Regions from separate parts of the Homo sapiens genome. Here all the other regions are linked to region 1. The links are contacts of gene promoters, found by promoter capture Hi-C in blood cells and fetal thymus (Javierre and others, 2016). All regions are on one chromosome and are shown on one strand. The core of a region is centred on a gene start or on the middle of the fragment in contact, and the rest is flanking DNA. Distances in the headings are between cores, read along the strand shown. Region 1 holds the start of ZNF660 (zinc finger protein 660). Region 2 overlaps ZDHHC3 (zDHHC palmitoyltransferase 3). Region 3 overlaps TGM4 (transglutaminase 4). Region 4 overlaps TOPAZ1 (testis and ovary specific TOPAZ 1).

Evidence for each region. Contacts are between HindIII fragments. The CHiCAGO score rates a contact against its expected background, and 5 or more counts as called.
Region 2: a contact is called between a fragment that was not itself captured here and the fragment with the promoter of ZNF660 in region 1, in 6 of 17 cell types (naive CD8 T cells, total CD4 T cells, total CD8 T cells and 3 more). The highest score is 6.9, in naive CD8 T cells.
Region 3: a contact is called between a fragment that was not itself captured here and the fragment with the promoter of ZNF660 in region 1, in 6 of 17 cell types (activated CD4 T cells, total CD4 T cells, total CD8 T cells and 3 more). The highest score is 6.7, in activated CD4 T cells.
Region 4: a fragment that was not itself captured here is called in contact with the fragment with the promoter of ZNF660 in region 1 in 1 of 17 cell types (megakaryocytes); the score reaches 6.6 in megakaryocytes.

What each region holds. Positions count from the first base shown.
Region 1 is chr3:44,582,116-44,589,238 of GRCh38, reverse strand. ZNF660 (zinc finger protein 660) reads right to left here and starts at 4,275. Exons shown (of 3, transcript NM_173658.4): 1 at 4,232-4,275; 2 at 3,026-3,134. It overlaps ZNF660-ZNF197 (ZNF660-ZNF197 readthrough), which reads right to left and starts at 4,275. Exons shown (of 8, transcript NR_147692.2): 1 at 4,232-4,275; 2 at 3,026-3,134. The region is part of intron 2 of ZKSCAN7-AS1 (ZKSCAN7 ZNF cluster antisense RNA 1); the gene reads left to right. It also overlaps a transcript of ZKSCAN7 not described here. The HindIII fragment of the contact is 2,337 bases long and covers 3,420-5,756 here.
Region 2 is chr3:44,913,835-44,920,957 of GRCh38, reverse strand. ZDHHC3 (zDHHC palmitoyltransferase 3) reads left to right here. Exons shown (of 7, transcript NM_001135179.2): 7 at 1-5,697. It overlaps TGM4 (transglutaminase 4), which reads right to left. Exons shown (of 14, transcript NM_003241.4): 14 at 5,968-7,123. Among named protein-coding and RNA genes, the nearest start is that of TGM4, 43 kb to the right of the region's middle. The HindIII fragment of the contact is 6,368 bases long and covers 1-6,318 here.
Region 3 is chr3:44,879,777-44,886,899 of GRCh38, reverse strand. TGM4 (transglutaminase 4) reads right to left here. Exons shown (of 14, transcript NM_003241.4): 2 at 1,402-1,575. Among named protein-coding and RNA genes, the nearest start is that of TGM4, 8.7 kb to the right of the region's middle. RefSeq lists enhancers at 1,009-1,303, 2,329-3,006. The HindIII fragment of the contact is 1,286 bases long and covers 3,948-5,233 here.
Region 4 is chr3:44,317,935-44,325,057 of GRCh38, reverse strand. It overlaps TOPAZ1 (testis and ovary specific TOPAZ 1), which reads right to left. Exons shown (of 20, transcript NM_001145030.2): 17 at 3,867-4,031; 18 at 1,763-1,966. LOC105377055 (a long non-coding RNA gene) reads left to right here. Exons shown (of 4, transcript XR_940782.4): 4 at 1-367. Among named protein-coding and RNA genes, the nearest start is that of TCAIM, 17 kb to the left of the region's middle. The HindIII fragment of the contact is 1,680 bases long and covers 3,566-5,245 here.

The DNA of each region.
Region 1 (7,123 bases), core at 3,026-5,525:
TTAGGAAGATTAGCCCAGATGGATTAGAGGGGGTTAAAAAGAAAAGAGGAAGGGAAATGAATTAGGAGACAACACTAGTCATGCGGTACAGGTGAACACTGGAGGGTCTGGCACGTTGTAGGTACCCAATAAACGTTTGTTGAATGAATGAACAAATGAATAAGATAGCAAGACCCTAATCCAAGATGAGAGAACAGAGAACAATGAAGTCTAGCTATTTTCAGGAACGCATCCAGATGTATAACGCACACATCCATATTCCTTTGAATACAGAGGATGGACTGAAGGAAACAATCCAAGGTCATCAGATCCATGTCTGAATACCAAGAATGGTAGTGTCACTAAGCAAGATGGGGACACACAGAAACATTTTAGACAAGGTGAAGAGGAATATATCACGAAGGCAAATTTGAGAATGATAAGACAGAGAGGACAGAGGGAGTCATGAAAATGTATAAACTTACTGAGGGTCGGGCACGGTGGCTCACTCCTATAATCCCAGCACTTTGGTAGGGTGAGGTGGGAGGACTGCCTGAGCCCAGGTGTTTGATCAGCCTGGGTAAAAATATTTTAAAAAGTGAGCCAGGTGTGGTGGCATATGCCTGTGGTCCCAGCTACTTGGGAGGCTGAGGGAGGTCGAGGCTGCAGTGAGCTATGATCATGCCGCCACACTCCAGCCTGGGAGACAGTGAGAACTTGTCTCAAAATAAATAAATACATTAAAAAAATAAAAAAACAGATAAGCTTACTGAGAAAGGGATTTGGGTTAGAAAAGTGATATCATTTAGATGTTCCTTCCAAATCTCACATTGAAATGTAATCTTCTATGTTGGAGGTGGGCCTGTTGGGAGGTGACTGGATCGTGGGGGTAGATTTCTCATGAATGGCTTATCGTCATCCTCTTGGTTCTGTCCTTGTGATAGTGAGTTCTCGTGAGATCATGTTGTTTAAAAGTGTGTGGTATCCCTCTGCCTTGCTCTTGCTCCTACTCTCACCATGCTCTGCCTCCTCCTACTTCACTTTCCACCATGAGTAAAAGCTTCCTGAGGCCTCCCCAGAAACTGAACAGATGCTGGCACCGTGCTTCCTGTACAGCCTGCAGAACAGTGAGTCAATTTAAACTCTTTTCTTTACAATTAACCCAGTCACAGGTATTTCTTTCTTTCTTTCTTTCTTTTTTTCTGAGACGAAGTTTCGCTCTTGTTGCCTAGGCTAGAGTGCAATGGCGTGATCTCAGCTCACTACAACCTCTGCCTCCCAGGTTCAAGTGATTCCTCTGCCTCAGCCTCCCGAGTAGCTGGGATTACAGGCATGTGCCACCACGCCCAGCTAATTTTTTGTATTTTTAGTAGAGATGGGGTTTCTCCATGTTGGTCAGGCTGGTCTCAAACTCCCAACCTCAGGTGATCCGCCCACCTCAGCCTCCCAAAGTGCTGGGATTGCAGGCGTAAGCCACCGCGCCCGGCTGGTATTTCTTTACAGCAACACAAGAATAGCCTAACACAAAGGGGCAGGTAGGGAGAAAGAGAAATGCACAGCGATGCACTGTAAGAAAGCCCAGGGTGGTGATGGAGGAGCTGAGGAGGAAGCAGGACCAGACAGGAGATCAAAGAGGGCCAAATGAGGAGAGTTTGATCAAAAAGAAACCTATTTGCTCCCTTCTGTCTGATTGGATAGGAAATGCCCTCAGAAATCCTGGAAGAATTCCTAGGTACTAAGGAAGTAGGGTCTTGGCTGGAGAAGTTTGGAGGGAAACATGAGGCCACAGGCCAGTAGGACACTAGGGGTATCTAGGCAACTGTACAGAAAAGCAAAATCTCAGACAGCCAGTGAATGTATGAGGACTGATAAGGCCCTGCAGATCTCTAACCCACAAATCTCTGAGACTGGTAGGTAAGTGTTCTAATCCTAGGACCACCATCCATTTCAGGCTGTGAAAAATACATAAAGGGTAGAATCCTATTGAGAGAGAGAGAGAGAGGCTTTACTTGGAGGCTGTCTTCCTTTAATTCACCAGCATCATCTGCCTGTTCAAGTCCCTCTAAGCAATGGTTACATGGTTCTTGGTTATTGATTAGGTGCAGTGGAGTAAGGAATAAGAGGAAATACCTGAAAATAAATTCAAGGGATGGATAAGTGAAATGTAAACATTGCAAGAAAAAAAAAGAATTAGAAGAAAGGCCTAAGCCTCAAGGGAAAGGCTAACACCATGTGAAAAAGCTGATATATCTGACACATAAAAATTTCTGTATTCCAAAAAATGCCATAACAAATCTATAAAATAGAGTTTGCCTTATACTGGAATTGCTTGTGTGTATGTCTGTGTCCATCCTCAAATATATACATTAAGCTCTATGCCCTCAGAGAGCAGTTCCCATGAGATTTGCCTGTAGATACCACATGGTGTCTGACACAGAGAGGGCTCAGTCAGCATTGTTTGATTTGAAATGGTAAATTAAACAAGTTTAAGATTCTAACACCTGGAGTGCACATAGGGATGCTGAGAGCCAAATCCACACATCACTACTACCATCCCTCCTCTACATGTTTGTCCTTTTTGTGCTTCATATTATCTGGGAAACACCATAATGGTGTATTTGCATTCTTGGCAATTCTGTCTCAACAGAGTCATCCCAGGGACTAAATTCCCTAAGAGATTGACCTGGTCCCACTATTCAGAGACTCTCAGTATGTCAGAGCTGGAAGGAACCTCCCAGTCTATCCAGTCTTATATCCAAATGTACAGAAGGAAAACTTGGAACTTAGAGGAAAGCTGGGACTCAAATCCAAGTCCCATGACACCCAATTTTGAGTTCTACTACATCACCCTTATTCCCATCTGAAACAAAACTCTACTCCTCAAGGTCCAGAGGCCCCCTGCCCACTTCAGTGCTTTTCTCCTGTTTGATAAATACCACTGAGAGAAGCTCCCTTTCAACCCTGGTGCCCACAAGCAGGATTCCTGTGCCCAGACTAACTTCACAATCTAGGCCTCACCTGCCCAGGAGAGAATGGAATGACTCACCCATATTCCTGTGCACAGCAGCCTCAATCCAAAGGATCTGCACAGCACAGATCTTGCCTGATCTCCTCCTTGAGTTCAGTGAAGAAGTTCCTAAGAGGGTCTTGAGTCACTGTAAACAGATATAAATGACTGAGTTCTCTGAGCCCTGAATTCCAAGTGGACACTCAGGGCAGTGTCCCATCTTTGGGTAACTTCCCTTCCTATAGAACTGTGGGCAGTAAGAAGGATCATTTCCAGTGTAAAGATGAGGGAATGAAGCTCCCAGGGATTGAACGACTTGCCCAAGGTCCTATAGCTAGTGAGTGATTAAAAAGCCTTCTGTGTCTTCAGGAAATCCTAATTCCATCACACCACAGCCTCCCCTTTTCACCTGCTCCATTGATATCTAAAAGCTTCCATATTCTCATCTAACTGCAAAATACAATGCAGTGGAGAACTTCCTTGCAATCCAGCTTTCCACAGAAAGTCTGCACAAGGGGGATGAGAGGGAGAACTTTGCTGAGTCAAGTGTCTTTAGGAAGACAGAAAGAAACAAGTCTTTAAAAGAGCACTAGAAAAAGAATGTTCCTTTTTTCTGTTTACCCATTTCTTAGGATTACTAAGCCTCAAATATGTTTTGTGTTTCCCCCTCCAGATCCCCAGGCTCTGCTTCTAACCCTTGAAGTTTGTTTCATTTCTCCCCTACTAGAATTTAGTTCTGTCCTGTACACAACCATAACCCCAGGACCTAGCACACTACTGGGTTAGTGCTCAATAAATATTTGTTGAATGAATCAATGAATGAATGAGTAACCTTGGGCAAGACTCCGTCCTCTTCTCTGGGCCCCAGGTTCCTCACTGGTAACGGGAGGGATATTGGACTGGTGATTTGAGTCAAATACTCAGGGGCTGTGGAGTCCTGAGAGCCTAGGCGGGACTCGACCGCTACTACCCGGAAGGCCCACTGCCTAGGAGCGGGGACGACACAGTGCTGTCACCACGGCCAGCCTGGTCCAAGCGAGCAGCTACGAGGAGTCAGAGACTGGACCCAAGACAAAGGGGCAGCACTGAACGAGAGAAAGGGGAGGCCCACAACGACCCCTTGGCTGCCGCGCCCATCTCAGCAGCGGGCAGCCGCAGAGGAGCCCTGGCCTCCTGGCTTGCGTCTCCCACACGCTCCCAGAACCCGGCCCGACCCCCCACGCCAGACTGTAGAGCACCCCTCACCGAAAGCGCCAGACCCACATCTTGAACAAAGCGCAGAAGGAACTGCGTCAGCAACTCCCAGCTAACTCCCAGCCTGTCCCTCCGGCCCTTCTAGGCTTCGTGAGGTTTCCACATCTCTGTGCCCGCGGGCTGGAGTCCCCCCGCCCCTCAGAAGCCCCGCGCGGTCGGCCGACGCTCTGGCCCTGCCTCCCTTCCGGGCTTTGCCCTATCATTGGATGGAAGGGCTTGGCGACTTCAGCCAATGTGAGGAGGGCCCTGGAAGTGGTGGAAGCTGGGCAGGGGGCTTGGTTAGGGCGGAAAGAGACCGAGCATCTGGGTGGCCAGGCTGCCAGCCTCAGGCTGAGACTCCCTAAAGTTACACCCCCAGCTCCGGTTGCTGAGCAGAGAGGTCATCTTTCCTTCCACAGATCTGGGTCATTCAGCCTCAAAGCCAGGATCAGCTATGGTTTATTGGCAGCATATGAAAAGACGTTTTGGGTGCCTACTATGTCACTCACTGTTCCAGGCGCTGCGGATACAGTAGTGAAGAAAATGAACTCTCTGCCCCATTGAGTTTACATTCAAGTCAAGGAGACAATGATAAATAAATATGTAGAACGTAGCAGTAAGGGGAGAGAGGGAGTAAGGGGAGAGAGGGAGATAGTGGTGGGACTATTTTACAGATGACAGGGAGGGCAGAGACAGGAAGTGGGCAATTGAAGCATGTGGCTATCTGGGGAAAGAGTATTCCCATAGTGGGCCATTAGGAGCAAAATTCTTTAATCAGGAGTGGGGTGGAGAGGTGCACATTTAGGATCTTGTAGACTATGATAAGGGCTTTGGATTTGCTCTGCATAACAGCTGGAGGGCTTGGGGACAGAGGAACGACATGATCTAACTTTTTTTCCCTTACCACATATTCAAAGACTTGTTAGCTATGAGACATGAAAGAAGCCAAGAAGCCTGTTACTATAAATTCTGTGAATTCTTTGCTGTCTGTCCTTAGCCATTCTAACATAAACCTTGCATGAATTTTGCTCTTTGACTTATATTTTTAGTTTGCTTTGGCTGTCTTGTTGAGAACGGTCTGAAGGTGGGTAAGAGTAGAATCAGGGAGATTAAGAGGCCATTACAATATTCCAGATGAGGACTGATAGTGGCTTGGACAGGCTTAGAAGTGATGCAGGTAGTGAGAAATGGTTCTGCATATATTTTGAAGGCATGGCCTGCATGATTTGCTAATGAATTGAATGTTGGTTACTGATGACTCCATGGTTATTGATCTGAGCAACTAGCATGGGATGGTCTTTTAGAAATCGAGTAGCTTGAAAGGAACAGGTTTAGGGAGAGGGATTAATAGTTTTGTTTTGGATGTGTTAAAGATGCCAATTAAACATCCAAGATGAAATGCCAAACAGGCAGTTGGAATAGGAGTCTGGACTTCCGTGAAGAGATCACAGCTAAAGACATAAATTTGGAAGTTGTCAGGACAGGATGAGACAATCTAGGGAATGATTTATCTAAGAAGGAGTCTGAGAATCAAGCTTTTGAAGTACTTCGTCAATTGACAAATATTCAGTATTTAATATTGTTGAGTACTTAAAGTATACCAGGAGCTTTCTTCTCCATTGGCTCATGTAGGTGGCACAACTCCGCCACATTGTATAGAGATTGAAAAAGAGATTCAGACAAAAGTCCTCCACAAGTTCACACCCTCAGTTGATGTGGGACGTAGAACTCGGGACACTCTCCTGAAGAGCACAAGACTACTGCCACTACATCAAGAAACTTAAAAAGAATAGGCTGGGTGTGGTGGCTCACGCCTGTAATCCCACCACTTTGGGAGGCTGAGGCGGGTGGATCACCTGAGGTCAGGAGTTCGAAACCAGCCTGGCCAACATGGTGAAACCCCGTCTCTACTAAATATTACAAAAATTAGCTGGGCATGGTGGCAGGCGCCTGTAATCCCAGCTACTCAGGAGTCTGAGGCAGGAGAATCGCTTGAACTCGGGAGCTGGAGATTGAAGTGAGCCAAGATCACGCCATTGTACTCCAGCCTGGAAGACAAGAGTGAAACTCAGTCACACACACACACACACACACACACACACACACACACACGAATATTCATGTACATTAAGGGAGCTGTGATCTTTAACTTACTTAGTCTTCCCTTTCACCTACTCTTTCATTTGGGTGGGTGGGGCCATTCATTCTGATTCAAGCTGCTAACCCTACATCTGGTCCCAGGGAGGAATGATTACTCCTTAATATTCTAGTCCAGTAATTCTCAAATTTTAGAGAACGTAAGGGTCACTAGAATATATGTTAAAAATAGATTCCAGCCTGCCTGTATCCAGCTTCTATTGCCCTTATCCACAAGCATACTTTTTCCTACAAAAATCTATTCATTCAGTCAAGTATAATGTCACTGCTCAGAAATCAGGGTGTTTTTTTGTGTGTCATAATTGCCTAAATACTCAGCAATTTCAATCTTTATTATGACATCTATCTGCCAAAGAAATTCTAACTCATTTGGGTAAATGAAATCAACGTCTAGTTGGTCAGGTCTTTTTAAGTTTGTGGACTAGGCCATCTAAGGGGAAAAAACATTGTAATTTTAGTCAGTTGACAAGTCTTAACCAGGCATCATTTCAGGAATACCCACAGGCCAGAAAGGTGGGCCGTCATACATTGCTCTCCTATTGTGTTTTCATGTAAAGCACTCACATGCCTTAAAAGGGAGTCTGCATCTCACCCTACTTGGCATCCACCTGGGTAAAGTGACCCTGTGCATATATTAGTGGAGGACTGTTATGATTTGGTGAATAATAAATCTAAAATGTCCTATCCTGGATCAAGTACTAGCACCACTAGGTGCTTGTGGAGCCAGCTGTAATCGTTAACACCTTC
Region 2 (7,123 bases), core at 1,885-4,384, 330 kb before region 1:
GAGTCCTACCAGGAAAAAGCAGCCCTCAGCCCATTTTTATACATCGGATTTGTTTGCAATATTTTCTTTCTAGACTCAAAAGTCAACACTCCCTGAAAGTTTGTCGACTTTACTGCTGAAGACCTCTGGTAGACAGGCCAGGCTCTGTCTGGAATACTTTATGAGGTTGGTGAGGAGGTTGAGTATAATCCAAGAGTGCCTATCTGGGAGCATGCCACATGAATGGCAAATAATCATCCTGTGGGCTCTTGGCTTCATTCCCCTTCTCTCTGACTGAGCTCAGCCTGGGCACAGTGGTGATTTGCAGTAGAACTGGAAACCTGTTGGGCAGAAAAAAAGACACTAGTTCTGGTTCCAGTTCTGATACATAACAAGCTAGATGAGCCTTGGCCACCGTCATGGCCTCTTGGAACTTCTGTTTCTTCCCCATCTGCCAATCATCAATACTCATACCCACCTCCTCACAAGGAGGCCATAAAAACCTATGGTCATGGCTTTGAGTCCAAGTCAGTGTGGATGCAGCCAGTCTGTCATTTTTGGGTGTTTCCTCTGTAGCCGGGTCTGCCATATGGTGATGTCCCAGCTCTCGTGCTATGAAGTTAAAGCCTCTTTCTCAACAGGCTGCAGATGATCACCCAGGAAGAGAATGCAGAATGCCCAAAGCAAACCATCTCAGCTGGTCACTGCTTCTGTGCCAAGAAGGGAGGCCTGGCGAGGGGCCAGTCAGGAAGCAGCATGGCATCACATGCTCATGACCCACATGAAGGTCCCTTTAGACTTGTGTCAACAAGATCCATTTTCTGAAACAACTATTTTTGTTCTGATTATAAAAGTAACATTGGCTCATTGGTAAAACTTGGATTGTGTGAGAAGTCTACAGAAATAAATACAAATCCTCTAGAATTCCATCCCCAAAAGTAACCACTCAGACAAATGTTCTAATGTCATGTAAAACCATATTAAACCATCTTTTCTAGCTGCATAGTGTTATAGAATCATTTGCTTAACCATCATTATTGGGCATTTCTCATTTCCAGCTTTGCATTATTATAATTCAGTGTTCAAGTTTGTATTGCATAAATCTTTGTCTCAGATTATTGATTATTTTTAAACTTTTTGTGAAATCAGACTTACAAAAATGTGACAAAAACAGTACAAAGAGTTCCCATGTACCTTTCAGTCAGTCTCACCAAAGGTAAACATTTTATACAACCATAATACAAATATAAAACCCTGGACATTGGCAACACCATACCCTTAACTAATGTATGTACCTTATTCACATTTCTCCAGTTGTCCCATTAACACCCTTTTCTGTTCCAGGATCCCACACTGCATCATTTGCGATGTCTCCTTAGTCTCCTCCAGTTTGTGACAGTTCCTCAGTCTTCCTTTGTCTTTCATGACCTTGACCCTTTTTAAAAATCGAGGTGAAATTCCTGTAACACAAAATTAGCCATTTTAAAGTGTACATTTAATGCATTCACAATGTTTTGTAACCACCAGGTCTGTCTGGTTCCAAAATCTTTTCATCAATCTTTGACCCTTTTGAAGATTGTAGGGCAGGTATTCTGTAGGCTGTCCTTCAGATTGTGTTTTTGATGTTTTTCTCATGATTAGATTGAGGTTAGGCATTTGGGGCAGGAGCACTGCTGAAGCAATGTGTCCTCGTTGCACCGTATCAGGAGGCATATGGTGTTGATACGTTTCATTATTGTGATGTTAACTTTGATCATTGGGTGAAGGTGGTACGTGCAATGTTTCTTCCCTGCTATTAAGGTACTGTTTTTCCCTTTGTAATTGATAAGTATCTTATGAGGATATACTTTTGAGATCCAATTTTTTTAACTTAGAATTTATTCAAAAGTCAAGAATCTTAAATCTCTGAAATGGCGTGGGAAGAAAAAGTGCTAGATACACAGAGATCTTTCTTGAGTCATGTGAAGGAGCAGTGCCCAAGCCCAGCAAACCCACAGCAAATTCCCTTGGCTTCCAGAAGAGATGGAGAAAGCAGTGCCCCCAGTGGAGGGTCAAAGGCCTCTGTGCAGGGTGTTGTGGGCCTGGAGAGCTGGCCTGGCCATGTCTTTACCTCCTCTGGGCATCTCCCCACCCCAACACCCTTTCTGTGGCCTGGTGGCTGAGTTGCAGCCGACACCCAGAGGCAGGTGAGTTGACAGCTTGGAAGAGGCTGCAGGGTGGATCTGCTGCATGAGCAGGCCTGAGCCCAGCCTTACCTCCCCACAGTGGTCCTGTGTGCCCTCCGGCTGCCTAATGCATGTTGGCACTTGCTGTACGAGCACCCGCTTCTTCACCTCGCATGCTGTTTGTGTCCTGCACTCCTTCCTTAACCCCATCGTCCTTCTGCTGTGTTTGCAGCCCCTATCTACCCTGGTGGGAGTGGCCAAAAATATTTAGGAGGGGATCACCAGTTTGTAGTGGCCTCAGAGGATGTGTGGTCCCCCTTATGCCTCAGCCACTCATCAGCCTAGCCCCTGCCCATCATCTGGCATTGCACTTGTGGAAGGAAAGAAGGGGAGGGCTGGGTGGTGGGTGGAGAACACGTCAGTCCACCAGGCGGGCCCTGCTTGCTGTGTTCCTCCACGCTGCTGTCCACCCACACCCCAGCAGTCCTCTGAGGGACCTCCCGGGGGTGACCTGGGCCACAACAGACTGCCCACTCAGACCCCATCTTACCCATGCCGTGGACACCCCGCCCCCCCCCCCGCCACTGCTATGCTATAGCTGGGGGTGTCTATGTGAGCTGTACAGCCCAGCACCACGCTGACGATGTTCTTCATCCCCTTCTCCCTGCAGGGCATCGAGCGCCTCAAACGAAAGAACCAGCCCAGGGAGCACATGGGGAGCTGGCAGTCAGTAAAGGAGACCTTTGGTGGGGACTTCTCCCTGAACTGGTTCAACCCCTTCTCCAGACCGTGTCAGCCAGAGATCCCCAGTGACAAAGACATGGTGCGGCAGGTGACATCGCTGTCAGACACCGAAACAATGGAGGATCCATCAGAGGAGACAAAGGACGAGGACTCTGTGGAGGTGACAGATGAATAGATGCTGCTGTGGGGAGAGAAGCAAACACTAAAAAGTGCTGTCAACCTTCATCCTGGGGTTTTGGCTAAAGGGGCTTATGGGCATGGTGCGCTCCCAGCACCCCCAGTGCTTCCCTTAGCCACTCGCTTGGCCTTGCCATTTCCCCTCCTTCTTCTCTCCATGTTGGGCCAGGTCTGGGGGTCGGGAGTAGGCTGGGGACATCAGAGGAGGATGGGGGCTTTCTCAGAGTTCATCTAAGAAGAGTCTGCACTGAGACGGCTCATCAAGAACCGTTCTCCAAGACTGGGTGGCTTTCACATTCTCCGCCCAGCAAAGGGAGCTTTTGAACAGGGCATCCCAGGGGCAGAAAAGAGCTTGCCTTTGGCTTTCCCCAGGATTTCTGTCTTCTCTTGGGAAGGCTGGGCCCCTGGCTCCTGGCTTTGAGAAGTAAGGTTGTGACAGAAGGACCGGGCAGGGCTTGCCTTGGGGACCTGGGTTGGGACACTGACATCAGGGGAGACTAGCCTGGAAAGACTGCAGAGCTGCCAGCTACTCCCTGGAAAGGGCTTCCCCATGCTGCCTGCCGAAATTAGGAGGTAGAGGTGGCTGCCACATCTACCTGCAAGGGCCAGGCATGGTTCAAAGAGGACCCTGCATTAAGCTCTACACACACATGTGCAGGACATGTCCAGCATGGACAGAGCCAGAGTTAAGACAGTAGCACCGAAAATGAGCCCCCATTCCACAGACACTGGAGTCTTCACTGAGCGAGACAGCTGGGAGCTGTCCTGCCTGTGGCTACATATCTAGCCATTCACAGATGTGGATATGGGAAGGACCTCTTTGGAGCTACTGGGGACTCCCTAACCACTCGCATGAGAACTTAATTGAATGTTACCTCTTGGAGGGAGTCTAATAACACATGTAGGTAGAACTGACCATAAACCCTGCCTGTGTGTTTGAAAAGGCCAGTTCTCCCAAATTGGTGCCCATCTTGTCTCTGAAAAGATGGGTGATGGCCAGGGTCTGCTGATTGATGAATCAGATGAATCAGGAAGATAGACAAACACACACACACACACACACACCCCACCAGGATGAGTCTGCCCTCTATTCACCCCATTTGAAGCCTGTGGTGTCTGTGACCACTGCTGAAGGTCTGAGCAGCGTTCTGGTGCTCCTAAACCCCATTCCAGTGGTTGCTGAAGCAGCATCTTCTGCACAAAGCCCAACAGAAGGGTTCTTATCCCCGTTTGGTATAAGAAGTGGATTCACCACCCACTCCCTCCACGTGCCTTTGTTCCTCTCTTTGGCCCATTTCCCCAGCGTCTACTGGCGTCAGGATTGGCAGGAGCACAGGCACTCAGCAGAGCATGCCCCTGCAAGACCTCAGTGTTAGGGCCCCCCTTCCAGCTCCAGGCAAAAGGGCATGAGTCCTGGCCCCAAGGGGCCTGTGGCTGCAGTTCAGAGGAGAAGAAGGTCAGTGTTTGGAGGTGCAGCCTCAGGATGCTGAGAAAGGAAACTGGCGACCGTGAGAAAGAAAAGAGCCAAGCAGCATCCTGGTTCTTGGACAGCATCTTTGGACACTCTGTGAAGGGCAACGATCCTGCCAGAGACCGTCTCTCTACAACTGATGACCCACTAGGGCCTGGGGTTAATTGCTCAAAGGGCCCAGTGTTCACAAAGCCACCTCTGCCCTAACCCTTGCCAGAGCTCTCCAACTATGACCCACGAGAGGGGTGATGGTGGGATTCTAACATCAACAGAGCAACCAGAAAGACATTGGGCCTCCCACACTCAGGCTGCAGGCCCACTTTCTTGGTCCTTATCAGCTTTAATATTTATTAATGACGACATAGGAGCCCGAGTCAGCTGTAAAGGCCATTAACTTGCAATCTGGACAGGAAGTTGACGCTCACCACTTTGGGTAAGAGCTGCTCTGACTGTAGGGCCCCCTATTTGTTGTCCTAACCCAGAAGCAGCTCTGGGCTGCCAGGATGGTGGATGGAATACCAGAGAGTTCACACTAGGGAGGAAGCAATGCCTGCCCCCTGGAGTCTCCTAGGGGGCAGCAGTTAGAATAAGGGAAGAGGATTTGCTGGTCACTGTTTGCTGACATGGGTTTCCATGGTGAGTTCAGGCCTGAGGACAGCAGTGTCTGCAAAACCACATGGCCCTTGAGAAATGTCCTTGCACATTGGGCTTCAAACTCCTCTTCTAGGGAATCCATCTTGGCCTGAAAGCAGAGGTACAACACCAGCCCCAAAGGCAATTCTGTTTTCAGATTGGTTGCTCTGGAAAGGAAGGCTGGGGTGAGGGGGCATTTTACTTGCACAGAGGCTGACCCTGCCTCCCCTCTTCACTGACCCCATCTCCAAGGTAGACCTCAGCCATGTCAGTCCCTGTTCTGGGAGGTGCTGGGCTGGGCCACAGCCAGGGTTATGTAGGTAATTAACCTGTCCAACCCTGAGCCTCGCCTCCCCACACCAGCAACACAGTGGTCTCTCTGTGGTGACCATTCACAGCATAACATTCTGCTTAGCCTCAGACTGAAAGCATTGCAACTGATGTCAAAACCAGATGAGATCTTACAGGGAGAGAGATTGGGTGCAATTTGCCTCTTTCTTTGAATAAAAAGCTCTTTGCTCACCCTCAGTGACTGGAGTCTCCTGTTTTAATTAAGAGATCCCAGCTCAAACCCTTGGGCAGTGTCCTTCCTTATGGGCCACCCTAAAGGCACCTCTAGGAAAGCTACTTTTCTTCCATTCCCAGTGTGGGAGACAAGTGAGTGTCATACGGCACCACACAGTGGCCGTGCCGGGCTATATCACCTCTTGGGATCGGACACTGTGCTGTGGAGTGACTGACCAAACTCTTGTTTGTGTCACCACCCTTGTGGTATTTCCAGCAGAAGGAACAGTCACCTTTCCTTCAATAAACATTTATTGAACACCTACTGTATGCCAGGGATGTGGGCAACTTGGGCAAGGGTGACCAGGATTGAGGTTTTTTTCACTTGGACAGCTGGAAAGGCAGAGGATGACAGGTATCCCACCCATGACTCTCCTGTGAATTAGACACAAAATAACCCTCATTCAAGCTACGTGCCTTTGCCAGGGTGTGTATCCAGTTGGGGTGACAGCCTTTGAGAGAGGGGTTGGATGTACTGAACAGACAATAAAGAAGCCAACTCCTCAGAGCACCTTGCCTGGGGAGATCAAAGGATTCCATGGCTCCCCAAGTGACTGCATAAACCGCCAGCACATTTAAGAAGCTTATTGGCATAAAGAAAAAAGGACTCAGGGACCACAGAGTTTTCTTGAAGTAGAGTTTAATTTAAAGCTTATTGATCATTTGAGCAAATCTCTGGAGGGCAGAACAAGAAGGAGCAGGCTTCAGTTAACAGAAGCAGCCTTGAGTTGCCAGGATAGTGGATGGAATACCAAAGAAAGAGTTCACACCAGGGAGGAAGCAATGCCTTCTCCCTGGAGTCTCCCAAGGGGCAGCTTTAGAATAAGGGAAGAGGATTTGCTGGTCACCGTTTGCTGACATGGGTCTCTATGGTGAGTTCAGGCCTGAGGACAGGGTTGTCTGCAAAACCACATGGCCCTTGAGAAATGTCCTTGCAGATTGGGCTTCAAACTGCTTGGAGCACCAGGAGAGGGACTTCCTGGATTTCAGGGATAGAGAGAGGAGAATGGAGGCAATAGGAGGAGAATGCACTTCTATCAGGCCCATCCCAGTGCTGAGAGAGCACTCCAGTTGACAGGTGCCTTCAGGGCTGGTGAACCCATGGCCTGAAGATATGGCAGCTTCTCAAGGGTCGTCAGCAGGTGGCAGCACTGGGCTGCCCATAGTCTGCTGCTCCAGGGAGAGACTCTGTGGCTTCGAAATCTATGGATTTGAATTGAGACAATGGTGGCCCTGATTTTTGAGGCCATGACTCAGGAAAGGGATGGGATTCTGTGGCCTCGGCTGGTGTTTCTAACTGTAAAAGAGGTGACCCTGTGATAGCACAGGACCTGGCCTTGTGGGTCTGGCTGCTTATGGTTGTGTTGGCCTTTTTGACCTGCTGGCTCTT
Region 3 (7,123 bases), core at 3,341-5,840, 300 kb before region 1:
CTGCTGCTTTCTGTCTTGCTGGAGGAGCCTCTTGTTTTTGGTTTCTTCATCATATCTGGCCCTGTCTGAAATTATCTTGCACTTTTGTTTGTTTACTGCTCTCTCTGCTAGTACAGTCAAGTCTAGGAGGCAGGAACTGCTTTACCTCTGGGTTCCCTGGCACAGAGTAGGTACTCAACAAATATTTGTTGAGTGAGTGATTCACACTATGTCATACATGGAGAGTGCTCAGTGCAACACCTGGCATGTGGCAAGTACTCAGGAAATTTTGGGTGAGGGAATGCACATGGACCCAGGGGTACTATAAAGTCACTGAAGTCAGCAACAGCACGGTCCCAGTCCATGCGTTGAGCAGGTAGCTCATGGCATGGCACACAGTAGGTGCTTATTTCATCTTGGATGAAGGGAATGGAGGCTGTTCTGACTGATCTCCACCAGCACGTTGGAGGAGACCCTAAGCCTGTTGTTCACTCAGAGAAGGAGCAAAAGGAGCGCTCTCCCAGGAAGTGCTATTGTATGCCATCTTGTAAAGTAGATCTACCTGATCTAATTTTTTTTTGAGACGGAGTTTCACTCTTGTCGCCAGGATGAAGTGCAATGACACTATCTTGCCTCCCTGCAACCTCCACCTCCCAGGTTCAAGCAATTCTACCTCAGCCTCCCGAATAGCTGGGATTACAGGCACCTGCCACTATGCCCAGCTAATTTTTGTATTTTTAGTAGAGACAGGGTTTCACCATGTTGGCCAGGTTGATCTCGAACTCCTGACCTCAGGTGATCTGCCTGCCTCGGCCTCCCAAAATGCTGGGATTACAGGCATGAGCTGCCATGCCCAGCTTACTTGATCTATTTTTAAAACTTAAAAACAACATTAAAGAAGTAAGACCCTCCTCCATTATCCCACCACCTGTCACAAAATCTAATACATTTTCTCTCTTCCCCTAGTTGTACTTATGCACATATATTTACCTAGCTATAACAAATGCATGAGCCATTTCCTATTATCTTTGCAACCAAAATATGATATTTTAATCATTATTATTGGCTTGCCTCCAGCCCACCCCGCTATGGCATCAGCATACCTCAGTCCTATGATTCATCTCTACAAAATGTTCCAGACCCCACCACGGCAGATGCCCGCTGAGTCACCTCCTCTCTCTGCTCTGGCCCCTCCCCTGCTTAGCCAAGGAATCAGAGCCTCACTATGTGCCAGGTCCTGACTGAGCTTCCCATTCTATTCTCTTCACACCCGCTATTATTCCCACATTACAGATGGAGAAACTGGGGATCAGGGAGGGTAAGGCACTCCTGGCTCAGACTGACCAGAAAGGGCCACTCCAGCATCCACAGACACTTGTGATCCCTCCCCAAAGCCCCATGAGTAGGGCCCCGAGGCTTCACCTGTGCTGAATTCCAGTTTCAGTTGGTGGTAGGATTGTAGGGGCTGGTTCAGCACCAGCCGCAGGTGAAACACCTGTCCTCGCCGGAACACAGGACTGCTCGTTTGGAACTCCCATGTGTGGTGAGAAACGGCGTTGTCCTGATTCAAGAAGTCAATGTGGAGAACTTGCAGCTCTGTCAGCAACGCAGCACATGTGGAAAGAGAGCACAGAGAATGTTTATTCCCTGATCACCTCTTTCTGGGTTCAAAATCTGAGAGTGCATTGAGGTGGAGCTGGGCTTTAGAGTCGGGCATCCCTGCTCCACCTCCAGCTGGTTATGAATCTGTCTGAGACTCAGTTTCTTCACCTGTAAGACTGGTGTGCACATACCTACCTTGTGGGATTACATGGGGATGAGCTGAGAGCAGTGGACTCAAGTGCTTAGTCATGTAACCCCGCAAAATAGGTAAGTGCACGCCCATCTTACAGGTGAGGAAACTGAGTTTCAAACAGGGTGAGTCTGTGAGTGGCTGTTAGGCAAGTTTCCCACCCCAACTCCCCCTCTCTGCAGACATGGCCTCAGGAACAAACCTGGTGCCAGGGTGTTCTCCGTCAATCAACACAAAAGCTGAAGGGAAAGAGGGGAGCGGGCAAACTGAGGAGGGAACAGATGAGCCCTGGGATTGCTCCCCTTCCTGTTCAGCCCAGACTCCCATCAGCTTCAAGTCAGACACCATCCTGAGGTGAGAGTTCACATCCTGAAGAGAAGGGTGGGGTGCAAAGTGGCTGGGGTGAAGCCTTTTTATCCAAATTGAGGAGGAAGCACCAAGGAGCTCCCATGATCTGAGGCCAAGACTACTTGCATTATAAATGGGATTTTTAAGGCCAGGTGCAGTGGTTCACGCCTCTAATCCCAGCACTTTGGGAGGCTGTGGGGGCGGCGCATCACCTGAGATCAGGAGCCGAGATCAAGCCACTGCACTCCAGAATGGGTGACAGAGTGAGACTCCATCCCCCCCAAAAAAAACAGGGGATTTTTTTCTTCAATGCTAAAGTGAAAAGTACATTCAGTAAAAGAAATAATCTCCACATGCATAATACACCCTTTTCTGTAGCACATGTATTTCTCACCATGTGTCTGTTATAATGACATTTCGTATTACCTCAGCTTGAGACCCAAACCCCTCCCCTTTATCTAAAATTCAAACCATTCCCAGGCTCATGAGTCATGAAGGGAAATGTGTTTTGGCTGCATGCTGAAACCACCTGGGGGTTGTAAAACTACTTATGTTCTCCCCCAGCGATTCTGATACAATTGTTCTGAGTGGGGCTGAGCCTCTATGTTTTCAAAGCTTTCCAGGCAATTCGAGTGTGCAGAGGGCATGGTAAAACACAGACTGCCAGACCCACCCTGAGTTTCTGATTCAGCACATCTGGGGTGTGGCTGAGAATTTGCCTCTCCAGCAGCTTCCTTGATGACGCTGTGCTGCTGGCCCAGGGAGGCACATATGGAGAACCCCTAGATTAGGAAGCCCCGCTGTGGCCTGTGAGGTAAAGTGAGGTGAGATGCAGGGACCTTCCTCTGCTCCTGAGGGCTCACCCACAGAGGAAACCCATCCTCTGCAGAGATCAAGGAGGCCAGCCATGGAAACTGGGCTTTCATGACTACAAAATAGGTGGAGTGGTCACGCCCACATCAGATGCCTACCTTGGGGATGCGGCCAGTGATGTGTTTGGAGACAGCACAGCTCATTCTTGCTGGAGTGGCTTTGGGATTGGGGTCTGGACAAGTGTTCTCCAGGAAGGCAAGTCCCAGCAAGTGGCCTTCCCTTCACACTGCGCACAGGGCCTGGGAACCTGCTGCCTCCAGCAGGGAGGCCCACCTGGCAGACAGACCTACCTTCCCAGGTGCTTCCCCTTCTTGGGCTGAAACCTTGGGGTGGGCCGATGGCTAGCTGGAGCATCTTAGCCCATTTGTGCCACTGTTATGGAATACCTGAGACTGGGTCATTTAGAAAGAATAGAAATTTATTTCTCACAGTTCTGGAGGCTGGGAAGTCCAAGATCAAGGCACTAGCATCTGGTGAGGGCCTCTTGCTGCATTGTAACATAGCAGAAGGCAGAGGGCGAGAGAGGACCAACTCCCTCCTTCAGGTCCCTTTAGAGGGGCACCTCATCTCATTCACAGGGAAGAAGCCCTTATCACCTAATCAACTCTTAAAGGCCCCACCTCTTAGTATCACCACATTGGCAACCCCTGAATTTTAGGGGGAGACATATTCAAACCATAGCATGCTGTCAGGAGCTGCAATCCTGAAAGGCTTCTTCATTTCCCTGGACAGCAGAGCTCCTGCTGTGGGACCCAGAGCCAATCGCAAAGCAATCACAGCTGGAAAAGGGCTTTAACAGTCCCTCCCATGTTCTGACTTATTCCTGCTCCCCCATGGACTGGGCAGGTGGGTGACCTGGGTTCCCAAGGGGTAAAGGTATAGGTTTTGGTACCAGGAAGCAGGAAAGAGCAGTTAAGAAATCCAAATCCTAAATGCAGTCATCTCTGTGGAAGCTTCTTAAGACCTTATCTCCCTGGAATGGTAAACATAGTCCCTCCCTTGGTGGCTAGTGTGCACATTGAGTGCCTGGCACATGCCTGGCACACAGTAGGCACTCGACAAAATGCAGGCCATCATTAATGTTAGGCAGATGGGCATATAGTGGGTTGAATGGTGGTCCCACAGAAGATATCTCCACCTGGAGCCTATGAATGTGACCTTATAGAAATAGGGGATTTTCAGGTGTGATTAAGGATCTTGTGATTATATTATCCTGGATTATCCAGGTAGGACCTAAATCCAAGAATAAGTGTCCTTATAAGAGACATGGAAAGGCAAGGGGAGGGTCATGTGAAGATGGAGGCAGAGACTGGAGTTACACAGCTGCAAGCCACAGAACACCTGGAGCCACCAGAAACCAAGAAAGACAAGGGAAGATTCTCCACTGGAGGCTTCTGCAAGAGCAGGACCCTGCGGACATTTTGATTTTGGATGTCTATCTTCCAGAACGAGAGAATAATAAATTGCTGTTGTTTTAAGCAGCCTCATTTGTGGTCATTTGAATGCCCTAAGAAACCAACATACAGCACATAACAGATGGCCAGTACTGGAGCCTCCTCCCTCACCCTCTCCTGGGCACTGCTCTGTGACCTGAGCACTGCTTAAGGCAGATCTGGGAGGCTGGAGGAATCCTGGAACTACAGGAAGCCACACTGGGGCTGTCTTTAAAAAAATGCCTTTGGAGTCACATACCTGTAATCCCGGTTACTCGGGAGACTGAGGTGGGAGAATCACTTGAGCCCAGGAGTTTGAGGCTGCAGTGAGCTATGATTGCAGCTGTGAATAGCCACAACACGCCAGCCTGGGCAACAAAGTGAGACCTCAACTCTAAAAAAAAAAAAAAAAAAAAAGCGTTTGTATTTTTATTTTGTAGCTATTGCACTTGGATAGATGGTCAAAATTGATATACCAGTTTAATGCTTGCAGTGTCATAAATGCAAGATGACCAGGGAAACCTGCAAAGAAAAAGTGTCAGTGGAATACAATGTCCTTGTTTCTTGCCACCAATGTGTGGGTTGGAGTTTAAATTATTTGAGTATTAAAAAACAAAAGTCTCTGCAATGGATAATTTTTGCTATAACTTTTGCCTATGAAGCCTCTGGAAAAAAGGAGACAACATAAAAGACAAGCAATCTCCAGATGGCGATATACTTTTGGAGTTTTAAAAAGCAAAGTTGCTTTTAAACTAAAATTAGCATTAGTTGCTAATGAGCTCTTGTGAAATTGTCAGCCTTAGAAGCTTATGATTTTCCAGTCTGTATGTATATTTTTGAGTGGGTCAAGTGGGACTCTTGAAATGACAAGAAAAAACGCACTTAAGAGGATCTTGGTGACTTTATAAGAAGAGGAAGACCTGAGCTTACCATGTGATGCCCAGCACCACCTTGGGACTCCTCAGGGAGTCCTCGCTAGGAAGAAGGCCCTCACCAGATGCAGCTCCTCGACCTTGGAGTCTCAGCCTCCATAACTGTAATAAATGAATTTCTTTTCTTTATAAATTACCTGAGTTTTAGGTATTCTTTTATAAGCAACAGAAAATAAACTAATACAATTTCCTTCTCCTTCCTTCTGGTAAGGCAGTTTGATTATTAAATACAGCTTTCCCCAGAAAGGGACTGACCTTTTCTAGGCTGCTCAATGAATAAATGATCAGGACAAAAAATAGTGAGAGGTTATTTAAGATTACTTTGATTTTTTTTTTTTTAATACAGGGCCTTGCTCTGTCACCCAGGCTGGAGTGCCGTGGTGTGAACACGGCTCACTGCAGCCACAACCTCCTGAGCTCAAGGGATCCTCCCACTTCAGCCTCCAGAGTAGCTGGGACTACAGGTGTGCACCATAGTGCACTTCATAGTGGTGATGAAGTCTTACTATGTTGCCCAGGCTGGTCTCAAACTCCTGAATTCAAGCGATCCTCCTGCCTCAGCCTCCAAAAATGTTGGAATTACAGACACGAGCCACCACACCCGAACTACCATTTTGAAAATTTTTGAAAATTCAGGATTTTGTCCTGACCAATTCCAGAATATGATGTGTTATTCTGGTTAGGTTGTATTAAAATATTTTTCTGTAAAAATGCTTTTGTCCCTCTTGCAAACAACCATTCCAGATGAAAGGTCTGGGTGAGAATAAGAGATTACTAAAAACAAAAAGAAAATAAAGTTATGATTGCTGAATGAATGAGATACACAGAGAAAAAACATGTCACAACTAATTGCTAAAGGAATTAAACACATCCTGTGTGACACTGGAGAGGACTCTTGGAAGACCTGCCTAGCTCCCTCAGGACCTCACCCCAGCAGGCTTTTCCCTTTGCTGATTTTTCTTTGTACTTTTTGCCACAAGAAATCACATTCCCCCACCCCCCAGTGTCCATATTGCTGCCTGAGTCTACTGCCACCTGCCAGCAGGCACTCCTGGAGAGTCTCCTTCCCAGAGTGCTTGTGGGAGCACAGCCCCTGCAGAATGCATACCGGTTATGAAAAATTTCAAACATCACCTCTTTCTGTAGAGGTCTGGGATTCCCCCATACTGAGAAAGTAAAATAAACAGTTGTCCTTGGCTCATAGGCAGAAACTGGCTCCTAGTCACAGTTGTCACTGGTTTAGGGGATAAACGCCAATCTTCTTTGGAGTAATTCATTCTCCACCAAAGTTTTATGGCATTCCCACAGATAAAGTCACACTCAAGGTGAGCTTATAGCCCCAAATTTTAAAACACAAAATACACTATTTCAGCAGAAACCACACAAGTATTCGTCCAAGAAATCAGATAATATACAGACTATAAAATAACGTATATAGACTATGGACCAGGCACAGTGGCTCACGCCTATGATCCCAACACTTTGGGAGGCTGAGGCAGGGGGATCCCTTGAGCCCAGGAGTTCAAGATCAGCCTGGGCAACATAGAGAAACCCTGTCTTTAAAAAAAAATTATTTAATTAACTGAGAATGGTGATGTGCACATGCAGTCTCAGCTACTTGGGAGGCTGAGGCAAGAGTATCTCTTGGGCCTGGGAGGTCAAGGCTGCAGTGAGCCATGTTCACACCACTACACTACAGCCTGGGTGACAGGGTGAGACCTTATTTCAAAAAATAATAAATAAAATAAAATATTAAAAAATATAGG
Region 4 (7,123 bases), core at 3,156-5,655, 260 kb after region 1:
TTTATTCATGGTTTTATAATTCAAGTACATTCCTTAAAAAACAAAAATACTCTTTATCCCGTAACCTCACTTGCATAAGTCTCAGAAGTTACACTGCATATGAAATAAGGAATATGTGATTAGATAAAAGGAAAAGTTCCAATAACAAAGGTACTGTATTGTACACAGGCATTAATTGCTTTAACACACTGCTAAAAAAATCTTTAAAAGTAATTCTTACTAGGGCTGAATTGATTTGGAGGAATGAGGAGTGACTGCTAATGCATATGAGGTTTCTTTCTGGTATGAATAAAATATTCTAAAGTTGATTATGGTGATGGTTACACAACTCTGTAGATATAGTAAAACCACTGACTTGTATACTTTAAATGGGTGACTTGTATGGCATTTGAATTATACTTCTATAAAGTTGTTAAAAATTTTTAAAGTAAATGATTAAGTCTAGATGCTTTAATATAAAATTTTATTTCCAACTAAAAAATAGAAATATTTATAAAAATCTCATTTAAATGTCTGAGCTTATATTTGTTCCTGTGGCATATAAACACCTTTTGATGGCATCTCCCCCCAGTTGCACAGTTATATGAAATTATTCCCATTAACTTCAATTCTAGAAACTAAAATCACACACACACATATATGTGTGTGTGTATGGTTTCTAGAAGTCTGAAGGTAAATAGTATAAAGAGTTGAAACATAACCACACAATTGAAATTAGGTGTTATGAACAAACAATTCTATCTTTCCTCTAAATTTCTGATCACCCTTTTTAAGAAAACTCAGCTTTCAAAACTTCTTTTGATTATAACCTACAAGAAACACATTTTGCATAATGACCCAGTATACATACGTGCATATATGCAACTGAAATGAAAATTTTATCAAATAATTAAACTTACTACCTGTAATGTACCCTAGTATTTTCTTTCCCATTTTGTTGGGGAAAAAAAGTTACCACCTGCTGCATTGATCACAGCTGGCCACCTGAAAAACACTTCCAGCTCAGGTAGTAGTGGCTAGGATATTTGACACATTTGGTACGGGGTGACACAGAGTAGGCACTCAAATATTTGTTATATACATGATAGTGGTAGAAATGGTAGCTGAAGACAAATTACTGCATGAAGGCAGAAAAAACAATGCTTTTCTAGATCTAGAACGTACATGGAATTACTTTCTAATTAAAATACCTGCGAGGTGGCTTGGACTAGAGAAAGCACTAGTTTTCCAGGCTTATTTGTTAGAGAACAACAGCTGTAAGTAGATTAACAAAGTTCTATTACTAAAAGCCATGTGAAAAACATATACTATGTTGCATTGTTATGACAGCCTTTATGCTTCTGATGTGACCTGCTATTGAATATTTTTAGTTATAACAATTAGGGATATAGCAGAGATAAATAAAAACAGATCTTCTTTAAACTTCATTCTACCCACTTGTTTTATGCTTGCATTATTTATAAGATATGCCAAACTGGTTCTATCCTGTCATTTGTTCCCTTTGCTCGCCCTCTAGCGGACAGGCTACTGTGCAAGAAATAAAGATTGGAAATTGCAAACATTGGAAATAAGGAAAGCAACTGGAAACAGAAGAGAAACAATAGGTTTCAAAAGAGAGCACAGATCTGTTGAGACCACTACATTTGAATATGTATTACTGCTCTTTTAATACATATAAATATCTAATCTTATATATTATAAATTCTGGGTTAGAGAATACAATTATAAACCAATATATTAAAACATTTTAAATGTAACTTACTTTTGTAGTGGGCTCTGGCTTTGAGCCATAAACGACTCCTTCCTAAAGAAGTAATTAATCTTCTGAGAAAGGAAAAATCAATAGGGATGCTCTTTGAAATCATGAATTCTGCCACAGAGGATGACATACCAAGACTACTGCTTTCTATACAGGAACCTAGAAGCTTATTAAAAAGAAGGCTATATTGTGAGACTTCCACAGTTTCTGGAATAAAAAAAATGATATAATAAAATTCATTTATATTAAAGTGTCTCAAACCTCCATCTCATACTCCTTTTTCTTTCTCCTCCCCTTCACCCTTTCTTACCCATTATAGGACTCACAGTCACTAAAATGCAATCATTTTATATATTCTCTTTATTTTTCTTCTCCTTTTTTGAGACAGGGTCTCACTCTGTCAGCCAGGCTGGAGTGCAGTGGCATGATCTTGGCTCACTGCAACCTTCACCTCCTGGGCTCAAGTCATCCTCTCGCCTCAGCCTCCTAAGTAGCTTGGACTACAGGTCCACCAGGCCTGGCTAATTTTTATGTTTTTTTGCAGAGGCAGGGTTTCACCATGTTGCCCAGACTAGTTTCGAATTCCTGGGCTCATCTATGGCCATACCACCCTGAACACGCCCATATCGTCTGATCTCAAATTCCTGGGCTCAAGTGAACTGCCTGCCTCAGCCTCCCAAAGTGCTGGGATTACAGGCATGAGCCACCGCGCCCAACCTATCTTACATATTCTCTAAGTCAGAAACGAAAAAGCATTTGACAAAAGAAAAACCATTAACTTCCTTTGCAATAGAGAAGATAAAAAGAAGCTTGACAAAAATTTCAGAGGATGCATTAAGACCTCTGTATTTGATTCCCACATGTAACTGTGTATCTGTAGTGTCTTGAATAATTTCTCAATTCTGTTTGTATTATATCTACAGTTCAGACCTTAGCCTTATATATCCCTTGACTAAAAACAAATCATCCCCTAATAAATATTTACTGCCAAATTTAAAACAATCCTTTAATGGATTTTCTATTCCTTCAGTTATTCTTAGAAGAAAGAGAAGTCATCTTAGAGACTTCTCTTTTATTCCCTATATTCAGTCAGTTGGGTCTGTGAGCTAGACTGTAGTTCCTTACTGCTTTAGAATCTTTTAGTTATCCAGGACTTATCAGGAAATTAATCTCTCTACTTTTAGTCTTTTCCTAAACACTACTGCCAGAGGAACTTTCCTGAAACACCAATTTCATTATATCACTCCCTAGACCCAAAACTCTAGTGATCCCTTTTTATACACAGAGAAGAAAATTCCTTTAGCCTGACATTTAGGGTCTTCCAAAATCTGGCACAACTATCTGTCCAATCTCCCTATTACTACTTTGTTTCATTACCAACTAATTGTATATTAAGAGATTGCTAGATAGCAGCCATTGGGCCAGGAATACCAAGGTAAAGAAAATAGTACCATCCTGATTGAGCTCACTTTGTATAAGGAGAAACAGATAAGAATGCTCATTACAATACAGGAGCACAGTGGAATTAAGTGGAAAAATGAAAATTTATAGATAGTACGATGAAAGTACTGAGGGGAGGCCCTCAGGTTAACGTTTTCGTCATCCTCTGAACCTATCACATAGCTCATTCTTGACCCAAAGCTTTTGCTCATGGACACCCAACATTCAAGAGTACTGACTACCATTTCCCACATTGGCGTTTGAACTTGGCATCTGTTTCACTTCCTCCATTTCTTTCAAGTTTACCTGTGTTCCTAGGTAATGTAAACTAAGTTCTGTATTTATTCAGTGATAAGAGAAAAAGCTTGCTCAGGGCATTTAAACATATTGTTTGCTGATGACTTGACAGAAGTAGGGAAAAGGGAATGATAAAAATGCTTGTCTTAGGAACTGCTGACAAACAACCCAAAGATAAGCATCTCAGATTTTTTTAAACCATCAGGAAAGTATATTCAATTTGCAGAGAACATATTTTACAGAAAACTACTTCATTAAAAAATATGCTGGAATATAAAACTCAATCAAAACAGGTGGATAACTATTTCTTATTAACAGTTAAACACCAGATGGGCAAGAGATAATTAAGATAGACTTTTAAAAAACATACCTTGGGAATTTTGAAAACCTGGTAGATTCTGCAAAACTTCAAATGTCTGTCTATAAAGGCTCTTGGCTAAGATTTCATGTGCAATTGTACAGAGTAAATTATGTCGATTAAGCACATCCAGTCTATCACAAGGCCACAGAGGCGTATTGATTATCCACTCTGACTCTTCCAAAAAGAAAAAAATATGAATAGTTTATACCATGAAAATGACACTTAACAGTATAATCACAACTAATGTTTCAATATATCTTTTGAAGAAACAGGCAAAACTTAAACATATGTACTCAGAGAAGATAACCATGGCTCAAATTTATTAGAAATAACTTATATAGTGATGATCATCATCTGAAGAAGATGCAAACAAATGGCCACTTTGTTATATTTATTTTTAATTAATTCTTCATCTAAGTGTACTAGTCAATTACTAATTTTAAATGTTTATTTTTATATAAAAAAGTTCAGATTATCACAAATATTTGCTTTAACATAAAATATTATTTATGTGGACAAGTTTAACAATTTCACAATAAATAATTTAATTAGTTTTTGGTATTACTGGGGAATAGCTTTTCTTTTCTTTTCTTTTTTTGAGATGGAGTCTCACTCTGTCACCCAGGCTGGAGTGCAGTGCAGTGGCGCAATCTTGGCTCACTGCAACCTCCGCCTCCCGGGTTCAAGTGATTCTCCTGCCTCAGCCTCCTGAGTAGCTGGGACTACAGGCGCGTGCCACCACACCTGGCTAAATTTTTTGTATGTTAAGTAGAGACGGAGTTTCGCTGTGTCAGCCAGGACAGTCTCGATCTCTTGACCTTGTGATTGGCCCACCTTGGCCTCCCAAAGTGCTGGGATTACAGGCATGAGCCACTGCGCCCGACCAGCGAATAGCTTTTCTTAACACTTTCTATTTTAAAAACAATTTCTATTATGAAATCGTTGTTGTATACAGAAGAATAATATATGTTATAAAAGCATAATAATAAAATTAACTCCTGTGTACCCATCACACCCACCTACGACCCTCAAACCAACAGACCTCAGACCCTCTTTAAAAAAAGAGAATATTACCTATAATGCTGAAGTTCCTTAATTTCTGCTCTGATTTTCACATTGAGAAAAACAATGGGAGACTGTAGTACAGAACACTGAGGTACTAAAATGTTAGAAATGTCAATATTTTATCATTTACCTAATTTACTCAATCATTATACACATAGTGAAACATTACTATATGTAACATTCAAATCATATTTTGGTGCTCTTTTTCAACTGAACTAAATGTAGAAGTAATCCTTTTATTTTGTGGCCTTCCTAGCACAGTGAATATAAAAAGTATTGAAGAAAAAGTTGATAATTCAAATATATCATGACAAAAGAAAGCTTTTAGTATCCAGTATAAAGCTTTAAAAAGGAGCTTTTCAATTACTAGAGCCCATGTGATTGACTGATTGACCTAACAGAGTTATACTATGTGTTAGGAATGTTCTAAGTGCTTTAAGAATATTAACTCATTTAGACAGATACTTTCATTAATTTGCTTCTACATTTGCTGACATTTTAATATAGAGAGAAATGTAAATGAATTTAATATCTTCAAAGACTGTATGATCATCTGTTAAACATAATTCCCATTAAAAGTAAAACTGTTCGTTCACCATTCCTTATAAAGTGAATTTTACTTTGATTGAATAAGTTCAATTATTTTTTATCTGTTAGATATATCCCATGTACAAAAAGTAGATTATATAAACCTTTTCTCATAAAAATTGCATCATTTTTCTTTAATACTTATTCTTTATATTTAAGGTAGGGTAATGGTCACATTTTTTGGAAAGTATATATGGTATTTTAGGAGATTCATTTAAAATTTTTATCAAACTGTTTAGGTATATAAAAAAATCTGACCTAGCATGCTCTCTCCCCACATCATCTCCCTGTCTGGGTTTTTGTTTTTTTCTGTGTTGCCATCTTTTTTAAAAACCTGTTCAGTGTTGCCAATCAACCAACGGTCTGTGAGGGGCAGCATGGGATCAGGCAGCAGGGTTCTTCCCCGCCTTGCCTTGGTTCCTTTGCAGGATTGAGCCACCTGGCCGTGGGGGAAGGGGTCAAGCTATATCCCAATACGTGTAGGGTAATGGTCCCTGGTGGCACATCCAGGTTGTGGGCCGAGCTGTGCTGGGGAGAACAGACCTGGGCATGGAGGGGAACTGCTCCCCAAAGGTTTCCGGTTGCCTCTCCTCTTCCTACTTTTGTCAGCCGATCAGTTTGTGGTTTCTGTGCCCGCAAAGGCTTCAGGAAGCATTAACAAAAGAAAACTATATATATATATTTTTATATATAAAGGTATACATTTAATATAATTATATAAAATATATATTATATATAAATAAAATATACATATTATATATATAAAATACATATATATATTTTTTTTTTCCGAGGAATGGGGCAGGGATAATGGAGATGGTGCTGGGAAATGAGTCCCCTGGGAGAGGGGGCCTGGCCATGATGCTGAAATATCTCAGGCTTCTGAATGGCTGGATTTCCCTAGGACCCTCAGAATAACAGACCTCAGATCCTCAGACCTGCCCTGGGGCCTGGTGGTGAAACTGAGGCCCGTACAAGGCAAGTCGAATTCTGAGTTGTTGGGACTAAGCCTGACCCCCTCTCTATGCAAACCCTCCCCCGCCCCACTCCCCCACCCCCCACCGTGGCCCTCAGTAGGGTTTTGTTTTGTTTTTTTGAGATGGAGTCTCAGTCTGTCACCCGGGCTGGAGTGCAGTGGCACAGTCCTGGTTCACTGCAACCTCCGCCTCCCGGGTTCAAGTGATTCTCCTGCCTCAGCCTCCTTAGTAGCTGGGACTACACGTGCCTGCCACCACGCCCAGCTAATTTTTGTATTTTTAGTAGAGACAGGGTTTCACCACGTTGGCCAGGATGGTCTCGAACTCCTGACCTCAGGTGATCAATCCACCCACTTCGGCCTCCCAAAGTGCTGGGATTACAGGCGTGAGCCACCATGCCCGCCCCTCAGTAGGTGGAGCCCCCAGCCCTTCTCCCCTTCCTGGCCTGACCAGCCATACTGCTTCATCACCCCGGGCCACAGGCCCTGTCAAGTACTGCACAGGGATTCCCACCCAGGGGCCCTGCACCATGAAATAATGTGAAATACTGACTGTGGACCAAACACAATCAAACCTCTGTTTTTAAGAAGAAAAAAAATCTGAGTAAGCTAATTATTCTATGTATCAAAGTCGACT